Regions from separate parts of the Homo sapiens genome. Here all the other regions are linked to region 3. Evidence: promoter capture Hi-C in 16 types of primary human blood cells and fetal thymus (Javierre and others, 2016). All regions are on one chromosome and are shown on one strand. Each heading gives the region's core, a stretch centred on a gene start or on the middle of the fragment in contact. The rest is flanking DNA. Distances are from core to core; before and after follow the strand shown. Region 1 holds the start of GOLGA3 (golgin A3). Region 2 overlaps GOLGA3 (golgin A3). Region 3 holds the start of ZNF891 (zinc finger protein 891).

What was found. Contacts are between HindIII fragments. The CHiCAGO score rates a contact against its expected background, and 5 or more counts as called.
Region 1: the fragment with the promoter of GOLGA3 here is called in contact with the fragment with the promoter of ZNF891 in region 3 in 1 of 17 cell types (neutrophils); the score reaches 5.6 in neutrophils.
Region 2: a contact is called between a fragment that was not itself captured here and the fragment with the promoter of ZNF891 in region 3, in 2 of 17 cell types (erythroblasts and fetal thymus). The highest score is 5.8, in erythroblasts.

What each region holds. Positions count from the first base shown.
Region 1 is chr12:132,827,008-132,830,504 of GRCh38, reverse strand. GOLGA3 (golgin A3) reads left to right here and starts at 1,636. Exons shown (of 24, transcript NM_001389683.1): 1 at 1,636-1,702. RefSeq lists silencers at 1,119-1,328, 1,699-1,758, 2,259-2,358 and an enhancer at 1,409-1,548. The HindIII fragment of the contact is 8,970 bases long and covers 1-3,497 here.
Region 2 is chr12:132,765,425-132,769,294 of GRCh38, reverse strand. It overlaps GOLGA3 (golgin A3), which reads left to right. Exons shown (of 24, transcript NM_001389683.1): 24 at 1-381. Among named protein-coding and RNA genes, the nearest start is that of ANKLE2, 5.5 kb to the right of the region's middle. RefSeq lists enhancers at 1,223-1,272, 1,383-1,432. The HindIII fragment of the contact is 1,846 bases long and covers 646-2,491 here.
Region 3 is chr12:133,128,318-133,131,886 of GRCh38, reverse strand. ZNF891 (zinc finger protein 891) reads left to right here and starts at 1,613. Exons shown (of 2, transcript NM_001277291.2): 1 at 1,613-1,660. It overlaps ZNF10 (zinc finger protein 10), which reads right to left and starts at 1,260. Exons shown (of 5, transcript NM_015394.5): 1 at 1,133-1,260. RefSeq lists an enhancer at 878-1,157 and silencers at 1,208-1,447, 1,818-1,997. The HindIII fragment of the contact is 7,004 bases long and covers 1-2,225 here.

The DNA of each region.
Region 1 (3,497 bases), core at 387-2,886, 300 kb after region 3:
ACTACAGGCACACACCACCACGCCCAGCTAATTTTTTTGTATTTTTCATAGAGACAGGGTTCACCATGTTGGCCAGGATAGTCTTGATCTCTTGACCTTGTGATCCACCTGCCTCGGCCTCTCAAGGTGCTGGAATTACAGGCGTGAGACACTGTGCCCGGCTTTTTTTTTTTTTTTTGAGACGGAGTCTTGCTCTGTTGCCCAGGCTGGTGGCACGATCTCCGCTCACTGCAACCTCTCCGCCTCCTGGATTCAAGCGATTCTCCTCCAGCCTCCTGAGTAGCTGGGATTACAGGCACATGCCACCATGCCCGGCTAATTATTATATTTTTAGTAGAGATGGGTTTCACCATTTGGCCTGGCTGGTCTCAAACTCCTGACCTCAGGTAATCCGCCCACCTTGGCCTCCCAAAGTGTTGGGATTACAGGCGTGAGCCACCGCATCCGGTGAAAAGTTTCTAATTTTTTCATGAAGTTTACTCTATCAACTTCTTTTGTGAATTGTGTTTTTTTGGTCAGATCTAAGAACTCTTCCCCAAGCTCTAGATGTGAGAAATTCTGTTTTCTTCTAAAAGTTGTATATTTTACGCCTCAGTCTGATCATTTTGTGTTAGAATTTGCATTTGCAGATAACATGATGGCCCATGTAAAAAATACAAGGATTTTACAACAACAACCGCAAAACACCAAATGAACCCTCAAACTAATGAGTTCAGCGAGGTCTCAGGATAAGAAAATCAACATAGAATTCATCACATTTGTGTAGACCAACAGTGAACACGTGGAAAACGTCAAAAACGCAGTGTTACAGTTGTTTGATGTGAAATACTATAAACTTAAAAGGTGCAGAATCTGTATGCTGAAATTACAAAATGCTGGTGGAAGAAATCAAAAGACCGAAATAAATGGAGGGGCCACCAGGGACGCAGATGAAGGACCGAGTCAGCGATGCCCGTGCTCCCCAAACGATCTGCAGCAGTTCCCATCAAAATCCCAGAAAACTTCGTAGACTGAAGCGTATTCCAAAATCCGCAGAGATGAGCGCAACATCACAGAGGACCCCGAGGCGCCCTCCAGGCCATTTCCTTCCTGACAGCTGGAAGAGCGGCCTGGCGGATGAGGGAAGGTGGAAAGCCGTTCCCCAGCGGCCAGCGGCCCGCGCCGTCCAGCTTTGCCCTTTTTAAAGGGGAAGCAAATAGGGTCCAAAGCAGCGTCGCCTTTGATCTGGCACCTGAAGCGCGAAGGGCGCCGGCCGGGTGGAGGTGCGGGGTTGGGGCGGGGACCCGACTAGGGCGGGCGGGGAAGTCACGCCCACACCGAGCTCGGCCGCGCCCATGCCGAGCCCCGGCCACGCCACTTCCGCCGGAAGCTCGGTTCAGCTTCCTGAAAGAGTTGGTCCTGCAGTTCCGGAAGTTGCGTTTCTACTAGGGAAAGGTCCGCAAACTCTTAAGGTCACTTTCTGAAGGCGGCCTCATCACAGTCGGAGGTGAGCTCGATCCGGACCCTGTGGGCAGAGGGTCCCCGGCCCTAGGGTGGCCACTTGAAGAAGAGGAGGACGTTCTCTGTTCCGGAACGAAAGTAGCGCGTGCAGGCTGTTTCCGGGGACCCGAGGCCGATGCACCGCTCGCCCCGCCCCTCTCACGGCCACGTCTCCGCCGGAGCATCCGGGCCGGGCGGCCTCCGGGGCTGCCAGAGCAGCAGGGTGAGGGGCTCGGAGGCCGCGGCGCCTCGGGGCTCGGGCTCCCGCTCCCGCTCCCGCTCCCGCAGTGCATGGGCGGGGGAGGCTCGAGGGGCGGCGGCGGGGCCTGGGCGCGTCCCTGCAGCGTGGCGGGACGGCCCCGTTCCAGTCACCCCCGCCTCGCTGCGGTGGCCTCGGGCCTGGGCGCCCGCCTTCAGCTGCGGCGGAGCTGGCTCTGTAAATGCCGGTGCCCGCGAGCCCTCCTGAATGCTTGTCTGCGCCCGACGAGCGCGGCCTGTCCCGAAGCTGTCCACTGCCACCACTCGGGCAGTGCTTGCTTTAGCCTGGCCCTTTGCAGCTGAAAGGCGTGACATGGTGTCGGGTGGTTCGTGGGAAGTCGGGGTTTCAGGAGTCCGTGTACTTCCTTGTTTGTCTTTGTCGCTGGCCGACTTGTCTTCATTCCAGGTGGCCAGAGCGAGTGGGGCCGGGCGTTGTCACGGGTATGAACCCGACGAATGTCAGTCGTGTGGCGGGTCCTGGGTATTGTGGGTCTGGGTCACTGCCCCCGCGGAGCCCACCTAGGACAGGGACACCCAGGGTCGCCAGCGAGAGGGTACCGGGCGGTGGTTGGGTGGGGTCCGCTACTCTAAGTGGGAGCCTGGGGGGCGGGCGACTTCCGTGCTAAGGCCTCTATGACGAGAAGCAAGCCAGGCAAAATTGTGAGAAAAGCGCGCCTCAGGCAGAAAGTTTGAAGACCCTGAGGGCGGAGGATGTGGCCACAGTGTAATGGCAAAGGGGGAAAGCGATGGCGGTAAGGATGTTGGTGTAGGCAGGTGCTGGATTCTTAAGAGGTTGGAGTTTATTGTCACTGGGCCAGTGTAAGCCATTTACAGATGACTCATGGATTTTTTTTTTTTTTTTAAGAGACTGGGTGTGTTGCTGTATTGCCCAGGCTGGTGTGGAACTCCTGGCCTCAAGCGATCCTCCCACCCCAGCCTCCCAAAGTGCTGGTGTTACAGGTGTGAGCAGCCACACCCGTCGTCGTGGATTATTTTGAACTGTCTTTTAAACGACATCAACATAGCGCTTTATAACCCTTTAATATCTTTTCAGGCAGTATACCTTAAATGGCAAGAAGGAAATAAATCATCTGACATCACTCAGATTGAAGAGGAGCTTTTTTTCCCCCGATTGCCTTAAGAAGTAGCATACTTTCCCAAGTGAGAATGCCTTCAGTTGGCTTTTAGCGATTTTGACAAGCAACAACTAAAGGGAAAATCGTGATAATTACTGTCATTTTATTGAGGACACGGGACAGACTCTGTGCCTTGTTATATTTAATCCTGGCAAAATTTTGCGTTCATTTTCTCATTGTTTTACTGGTGAGGAAACAGGCTAAATGTGATTAAGAAATCTTTAGCCCAGGCTCTCACAGGTAAGTGGTGGAGGGTCGGGAGCTGAGGCCGGAGTCCTGACTTCCAAGCCTGCCCTTCACGTCTCTGCAGTGACATGAGGCTTGCTTGCTTTTGGTTTTCACTTTGTGTATAGATCTGTGTTTACTTTTGGATACTAGTGTGGCCTCCACCAGGTACTCTTTTCCTGAGGAAATCGTGTTTGGTTTTTGGCTGTGCTCTGTTGTTTCTAATACCCGATAGGAACAGGTGAAACGAGGTGGTGTAGATGGAGCCGTGAATGTTTGTATACAGAATTCAGGTGTGGGGGAAGCAGAAAGTCCTGTAGGTGCCTGAGGTGGTGGTTTCTCAGTATGAAGTCCCTTGATGTTACCCAGCTGTGAACCTAGGGTTGTGTGTACCTTTCG
Region 2 (3,870 bases), core at 319-2,818, 360 kb after region 3:
TCTGAGAGAACCGTCCTGGGGCCTCCCTTCGAGGAGCCCTCTGATGTGAGGAGGGACTTGAGTTGAGTGACGCTGTGGTGTGAGGTGTTCTGAGCTCACTGACCGGAAGGTCCAGGTGAATCTCGTCATAAGTGATCTCAGGCTCTCACAGGATCCGGAGGGAAATGTGTTAGAGGGTCTGGAAAATTCAGTGCTTTTGAGTTACTTGTTTTTATTAAAAATTTCCTCACAAAAGAGAGTCCTCAAGTTGTGGCTGTTCTTGGGAAAGGGGTCACCGTGTCTGACAAAGTGTAACTTTAAAAAGCACGTTGATTTTTTACAAATGTAAGTGTGCTTGGGAATTCCTTAAATTTTGTGCAATAAACTATTTTTTGGTAAAGATTTTCATATTCATTGGAAGCTTCATTTTAATAGTTATATTTTGTCGTTTGGCAGTAACTTTTTAATCTCATGTTATTACACACTCTGTTCAACACGTGCTTTAAAAGAGAATTCTACTGTCCTGCCGGTTTCTGGCAGGAGTGAAGCAAACTTCTGTGGCTTGTGACCACGGCAGACGCGCGGCACCGCCTCCTCCGTCCTTGGCCCACGCTTCGCTTTGCCCGTTGTCATTTGCCAGGAATACAGAAGGAGGGGGAGCAAGCTTCCCGGTGAACCGGGGAAGGATGGTGACCGCTCTGTGCTGCGCCTCCTGAACTGGGTCTCATCATCCAGGTGCTGCCCTCTGCTGGGCCTCCCCGGTGACAGTGGAGTCATGACTCTCAGACCTCAGCAATGTGACTTCCCAGATTCTCGTCTTTTTCATCCATACTTTGATTTTGGTCATTAAGAGTTAACCAGGCGTAAGCTGGGTGTGGTGGCTCACGCCTGTAATCCCAGCACTTTGGGAGGCTGGGAGGGGGTGGTCACCTGAGGTCAGGGGTTCAAGACCAGCCCGGCCAACATGGTGAAACTCCACCTCTACTAAACAAAAAATTAGCCAGGGCGTGGTGGCGGGCGCCTGTAATCCCCACTTGTCAGGAGGCTGAGGCAGAAGAATCGCTTGATCGGGCAGAGGTTGCAGTGAGCCGAGATCACACCACTGCACTCCAGCCTGGGTGACAGAGCATGACTCCGTCTAAAAAAAAAAAGAGTTAACCAGGTACAGAGTTTTCAGTTAGACGTTATTAGAGGCCACCATGGTTTAAAAAGTACAGAAAAGGGGCAGGAAGTGGTGGTCGCTGGGCTTGGCCCTGTGGGATTAATGCACTTCTTCCTGTGAGCGTTACCAGCTTCTGTACCCAGAGAATTGCTACACAGAGTAAAAATTCCCTGACCACCTTCTGTGGCCTTAACTTTCTGAAATATTAAGGATATAATTTTTTTTGGTCTATAGAACCCTTAAGGGGACATGTATGTATCTGAACTTTTTCCTTTTCTCCATGGAGTTGCTACGTGTTTGCAGGCACTGCACTGACAGGTATATTTTAAGCTGTGTCTGTCTCAGCAGCTCGAAGCTCCACGCTGCGTCCTGCTACAGAGCTCAGCAGTGGGTGTCAGGAGTGGTTTTGGCAGAGATGAATGGGTCACTTCTTCCTGGCTTAGAGTGGCGGCAGGTACTGTCAGGAATTTGGGTTGAGTGTAGGACAGAGGACGTATCGCTGATGGGAGGCTCAGGATTTTTTTTTTTTTTTTTTTTTGGAGACGGAGTCTCACTCTGTGGCCCAGGCTGGTGTGCGGCGGCGCGATCTCGGCTCACTGCAAGCTACGCCTCCCAGGTTCACGCCATTCTCCTGCCTCAGCCTCCTGAGTAGCTGGGACTACAGGCTCCCGCCACCACGCCCGGCTAATTTCTTTTTGTATTTTAGTAGAGACGGGGTTTCACCGTGTCGGCCCGGATGGTCTCGATCTCCTGACCTCATGATCCGCCCGCCTCGGCCTCCCAAAGTGCTGGGATTACAGGCATGAAGGAGACTCAGGATTTAAAAATTACCAGGTCACTCAGAAATCTGAGACCTCGGGTAGTATTAGGAAGCAGGCCAGGCACAGTGGCTCATGCCTGTAATCCCAGCGCTTTGGGAGGCTGAGGCGGGTGAATCACTCAAGATCAGGAATTTGAAACCCGCCTGGCTAACATGGTGAAACCCCATCTCTACTAAAAATACAAAAATTAGCCGGGCGTGGTGATGGGCGCCTGTAATCCCAGCTACTCAGGAAGCTGAGGCAGGAGAATTGTTGAAGCCGGGAGGTGGAGGCTGCAGTGAGTGGAGTTCGTGCCGTTGCACTCCAGCCTGGGCAACAAAGTTGAGACTCGAGATAAAAAAAAAAAGCAGGAAGCAGATAATGGGGGAAACTAAGACGACTGCACTTCCGCCGTCTAGCTTGATGGATAAACATGACAGTTGCTGGCAGCGTCCCCAAGCCTTTCCCAGATGACGAGAGCAAGTCCCAGCACTTGGTGGCGTCTACAGTCGGGAGCATTTGTTGGAACTTGGCGGCCTCTACACAAGCTTCCGTCTGAGGGGGAATGTTGCAGGTTGCGATAAAGAGCATACTTGGGCAGTGGCCTTTCTCCTGGACACAGGGCAATGTTAAACTGCTGCTGGGCCGCCTCTGCCCATGTTTGCAACGCCCTCTGCTCGCCTGTGTGTGGGGGCGTCCTACAGCCCTCCTCCTGGCAGTGCCCTCTTCACCTCTGTGTGGGGGTGTCCTACAGCCCTCCCCCTGGCAGTGCCCTCTTCACCTGTGTGTGGGGGCGTCCTACACCCTTCCCCCGGCTCCACCACTGGCTGCCGGTGACCTTCACAGTGTCCACATCTCTAAGTTCTGACTCCATCTGAAGTGAGGGCTGAAGGTGGCGGAACCTCTGGGAGGCGTGAAAGCCGACTGTGGGCGCCCAAGGCAGCTGAGGGCTGGCGATGCCCTCGTTACTGATGAGGTGGGAACCTCTAGCCCCAAAGGCAGCATGTCCTGGTGGCACCTGGGGAGGCAGCTCTGGGAGCACCACCAGGACACCCATCTCCGCGGCCATCGGCTCAGGGATTTGCGGGAGATTGCTGGGCTTTTCTACACATCGTCGGGGTTGGATTTCACCTTCACATGAAATAGATATATTTTGAGACGGAGTTTCACTCTTGTTGCCCAGGCTGGAGTGCAGTGTCTCGATCTCAGCTCACTGCAACCTCTGCCTGCCAGGTTCAAGTGACTCTCCTGCCTCAGCCTCCAGAGTAGCTGGGCTTACAGGCTCCCGCCACCACGCCCGGCTAATTTTTGTATTTTCAGTAGAGATGGGGTTTCACCATTTTGTTCAGGCTGGTCTTGAACCCCTGACCTCAGGTGATTCACCTGCCTCTGCCTCCCAAAGTGCTAGGATTACAGGCATGAGCCACCGCGCCCGGCCCACAGTGAAATATTTTTGAGTGTCATGTCTAAATGCCCTGAAACCCAGAGAAGGACAATCTTGTCTCTGCTCGCGGAGCCTCCCACAGCACTTCAATTGTTGCAAGATTTCCTTCTGAGCGTTAAACGTGCATTTCTGGAGACTGGATAGATACGTCAAGTGTATCTTCCCAATGCTTTCAAAAATGCCCCCATCTTCACCCAGAAAACAGACCCCCCCCCCCCGCCACCTGCCTGTCCCTGCAGCTGGGCGTCTGATGGTCACGGCCGTAGCTCCCCTGAAACCCCTCATTCCCCTGCATCAGCCCAGGTCCCACCAGGTTCTGGAGCCTGTACGTTTCCACTCAGGGCCGTTATCTCCACCTGAGGGCCTCTGGCGTCCTGCGGTTGCCGTCCCTGCCCCTGCATTTCCTCTGCTGAACCACTTGGCCTGGGCTGTTTTCCTGACTAGACCCTACTGTATGTAACATACGGCTGGGTTTCTACAAGTGC
Region 3 (3,569 bases), core at 364-2,863:
AATTTCCAGACAGTGCTTATATAAAATACTGATAAGCAGAAATTCTCATTTAATTTATGATGTGTATCTCAAATCTCTGCCCTTGTGACTAGCATATACTAAGAGCTAAAGAAATGCATGCTGAGAGAAGTAATCAAAAAACAAATGTAACTTTCAAAAAGAGGCAGGAGCGTGTGCAACTTACCATCCAAGAGGCTTTGGAAGATGGGGGACAATTTTAGTAAAACAGAAGAGATTAGTTATGTCACAAGAGAAAAGTTAGTGTGGAGGTAATTTTCAAAAGGGTAGGGAGGATTTGTGCTATCCAGTTCTCGGAGACCTAACTGCAGTCATTTCTAACCTAATAACACTTGTTGGCTGGCATTCTGGGTGACATCCTGCCTTCCCTTTTACTTTTTTTTTTTTAATTAACAGTATCTTTCTGCAATTAATGTATAGCTGGAATTGAAATTGTTCACCTTCTGCATACACTTTGGGTGGGATCTACGTACGAAATCTTGATGTTAACCTTATCTTTGACACTCATATTATGTGTTAGATGGCGTATATATATCTAGTGTCAAGGGAAAATAAAAATATAGTAATTAAACTTATGATCTGTCTCTGAAAATAAAAAAAATAGATTAACCACACAAACACGCCTTCAGTTAATCTATCTGATTAAAAAACAAAACAAAGATGAGGAAGCTAAGAGCTAGAGATGCAGGATTTGTTTTTAAAAGACCACACACGAATCGGCGTCACTATTTCAACAAATACTAGAAAGGCCATATGCAAAATTTTAAACATCTATCCCAGCTGGGGGGAAAAATGGAAGTTAGACTAGAAGAAACCTTATTTTGTATTACTGAAAATATCTGGTTCAAACTTACCACCACCGCCGCCCACTCTGCGTCAATCTCCAGGTGCAGCCGTTATTCTCCACAGAACAAGAACGTCCGCCGTGAACGCCGGGGCCGCGCGAGGGACAGAAAGTGACTGAGGCAAGGGGTGACGATCACCGTTAAATTTTTTCATTGACGAAATTACCGTCTACCTAGAAATACGAAGCTAATACACTGCTACATTACTAAAGGGCTCAACACGCGCCTGATGACGATGCAAACACAAAATTCAGCACTTTCGTATATACCTGCAATAAGCAACTAGAAGGTTCGATGGGAGAAAGCGATCCCGTCACAAAGGCAGCAGCAACAGCAAAACAGAGAACGCGACTCCATTCACCAGCGGAGCGCGAAGAGCGGCGTCAGAGGTGAGTCTGAGGCCGGCTCGGCACGGCGGCGCCACCTCCCCGTGGCCTGACGTCACGCACGCGCACGCGCCCCGCCCCCATTGGTCCTACGCCCGCCCCTGCTGCGAACGCACGCACACGCACCCACAACACACACCGTTACGCACGCGCCCCAGCCTGGCGTTCAGGCCACGCTCCGCCCCCAGCCCGTCAGCCGCGCGCCCCGGGACCCTAGAGCCGGCGATTCGTCGCCGGCGCCGCAGCCGCCACTCTGTGCCGGACCCTGCGGGCCTTCGGCCCAGAGCGCGTCCGTGACGCACAGACCAGGCCCCTCTGCGGGGCGGCGCAGGAGCTCCTGGGAAACGTAGTTCGGCCTCGCGTCCCCCTCGGGCGGGACCGCGGACGCCTGGAGGCAGGCACTGAGGACGGGTGAGCATGCGGGCCTGTGGCTCGTTCACCCGGGACAAGTCCCTCGTGGGATCAGCCTGGCCCGCTGAGTTCTCCTGCGTGCAGGGATCGCCTCACGGGAGTCTGAGCAGCAGGGAGCCTGCCCGGGAGGCGGCGGTGGGAGAGGCCCTTGAGGGAGGAGGGGCTACTTACCGGGTGCGAGTGGAGCGCGGGGAGCGAGTGGGGACCAGGGGCGCGCGGGGCGGAGGGGTCCCGGGCTGGCTGCGGGTGCCACGCAGGGAGCGCTGGGGGGCCGGGGATGCGCGTTTGCCTCCTTCTCTAAGCAACACGGGAGGGCTAAAGGGTGCACGCCTCTGTCCAGCAGCCTCTCTTGAATCTCTAAACCTAGTAATGAGTTGAATCACAGCCATCGTTTTTTTCACCTATTGCCTTATACTGTGGTTGAATGCGATATGGTTTTATTTCTTTAATACTCTGGTGTATTCAATTGGCTGTTTCCCTTTGACTTCACCTATGCTCACAAGATTGTGTTTTAATCTTTTTGTGTACTATCCTTGCCCGTTATACTAACAAGATTTTACAAGCTTCATGAATAATTTGGACAGCACAGTCTCTCTTCTATTCTGTAAAACAGGTCACCACCCCTCACCGCCCCCCGCCCGCCTCCAAAAGTTTGGTGCTATTTGGTCTTAAAATATTTAGTACGCATTTAACTTCTGACTCAATTTTTTTTTTTTTTTTTTTTGAGACAGAGTTTCGCTCTTTGTTGCCCAGGCTGGAGTGCAATGGCGCCATCTTGGCTCACAGCAACCTCCGCCTCCCGGGTTCAAGTGATTCTTCTGCCTCAGTCTTGTGAGTTGCCGGGATTACAGACATGAGCCACCACGCCCAGCTAATTCTGTATTTTTAGTGGAGATGGGGTTTCTCCATGTTGGTCAGGCTGGTCTGGAACTCCCGACCTCAGGTGATCAGCCTGCCTCGGCCTCCCAAAGCGCTGAGATTACAAGCGTGAGCCACCGCACCCGGCCCTGACTCAATTTTTTAAAAAGTCTCATTGATTAGGTTTTTTAGTTCGTATTCTGTTTTAGATACCTTTCCTAGATAATTGTTTTTAATCTAATTTTTCAAATTTATTGGCATAAAATTGCCCATGCTATTTTATCACTGTAAGTAATTTCTATGGTGATTTTTAAAATCACCACTTTTTAATATTTTACTGCTGTAATTGTTATTTTTTTCTTTTTTGAACCTAATTATCTAGGCCTTTTTTTCTTGATTACTCCTATAAGGTATATGTGTACATAGTCTTTTCAAAAATGTAGATTTGGTTTTGGTTTTTTTGTTGTTTTGTTTTGGTCTTTTTTGGGGAGGGGGGTCCTATTACAGTAAGTTTTGCTCTTAATTTTTAAATTTTTCTTTTACTTTGTCTCTGTTTTTCTACTTTTTTTTTTTTTTCGAGACAGAGTTTCACTCTGTCTCCAGGCTGGAGTGCAGTGGCGTGATCTCGGCTCACTGTAGCCTCTACCACCCGGATTCAAGCGATTCTCCTGCCTCAGGCCCCACCACGCCCGGCTAATCCAGCTAATTTTTGTTTTTGTTTGTTTGTTTGTTTTTGAGACAGAGTCTCTCTCTCTCGCCCAGGCGGGAATGCAATGGCAGGATCTCTGCTCACTGCAACTTCCACATCCCGGGTTCAAGCCATTCTCCTGCCTCAGCCTCTGGAATAGCTGGGATCACAGGCGCACACTGCCATGCCCGGTTAATTTTTTGTATTTTTTAGTAGAGACGGGGTTTCACGGTGTTGCCCAGGCTGGTCTCGAACTCTTCAGCTCAGGCAATCCGCCCGCCTTGGCCTCCCAAAGTGCTAGGATTACAGGCGTGAGCCACCGTGCCTGGCCATCTGCTTCTTGATTTGACTGGGTAATTAATT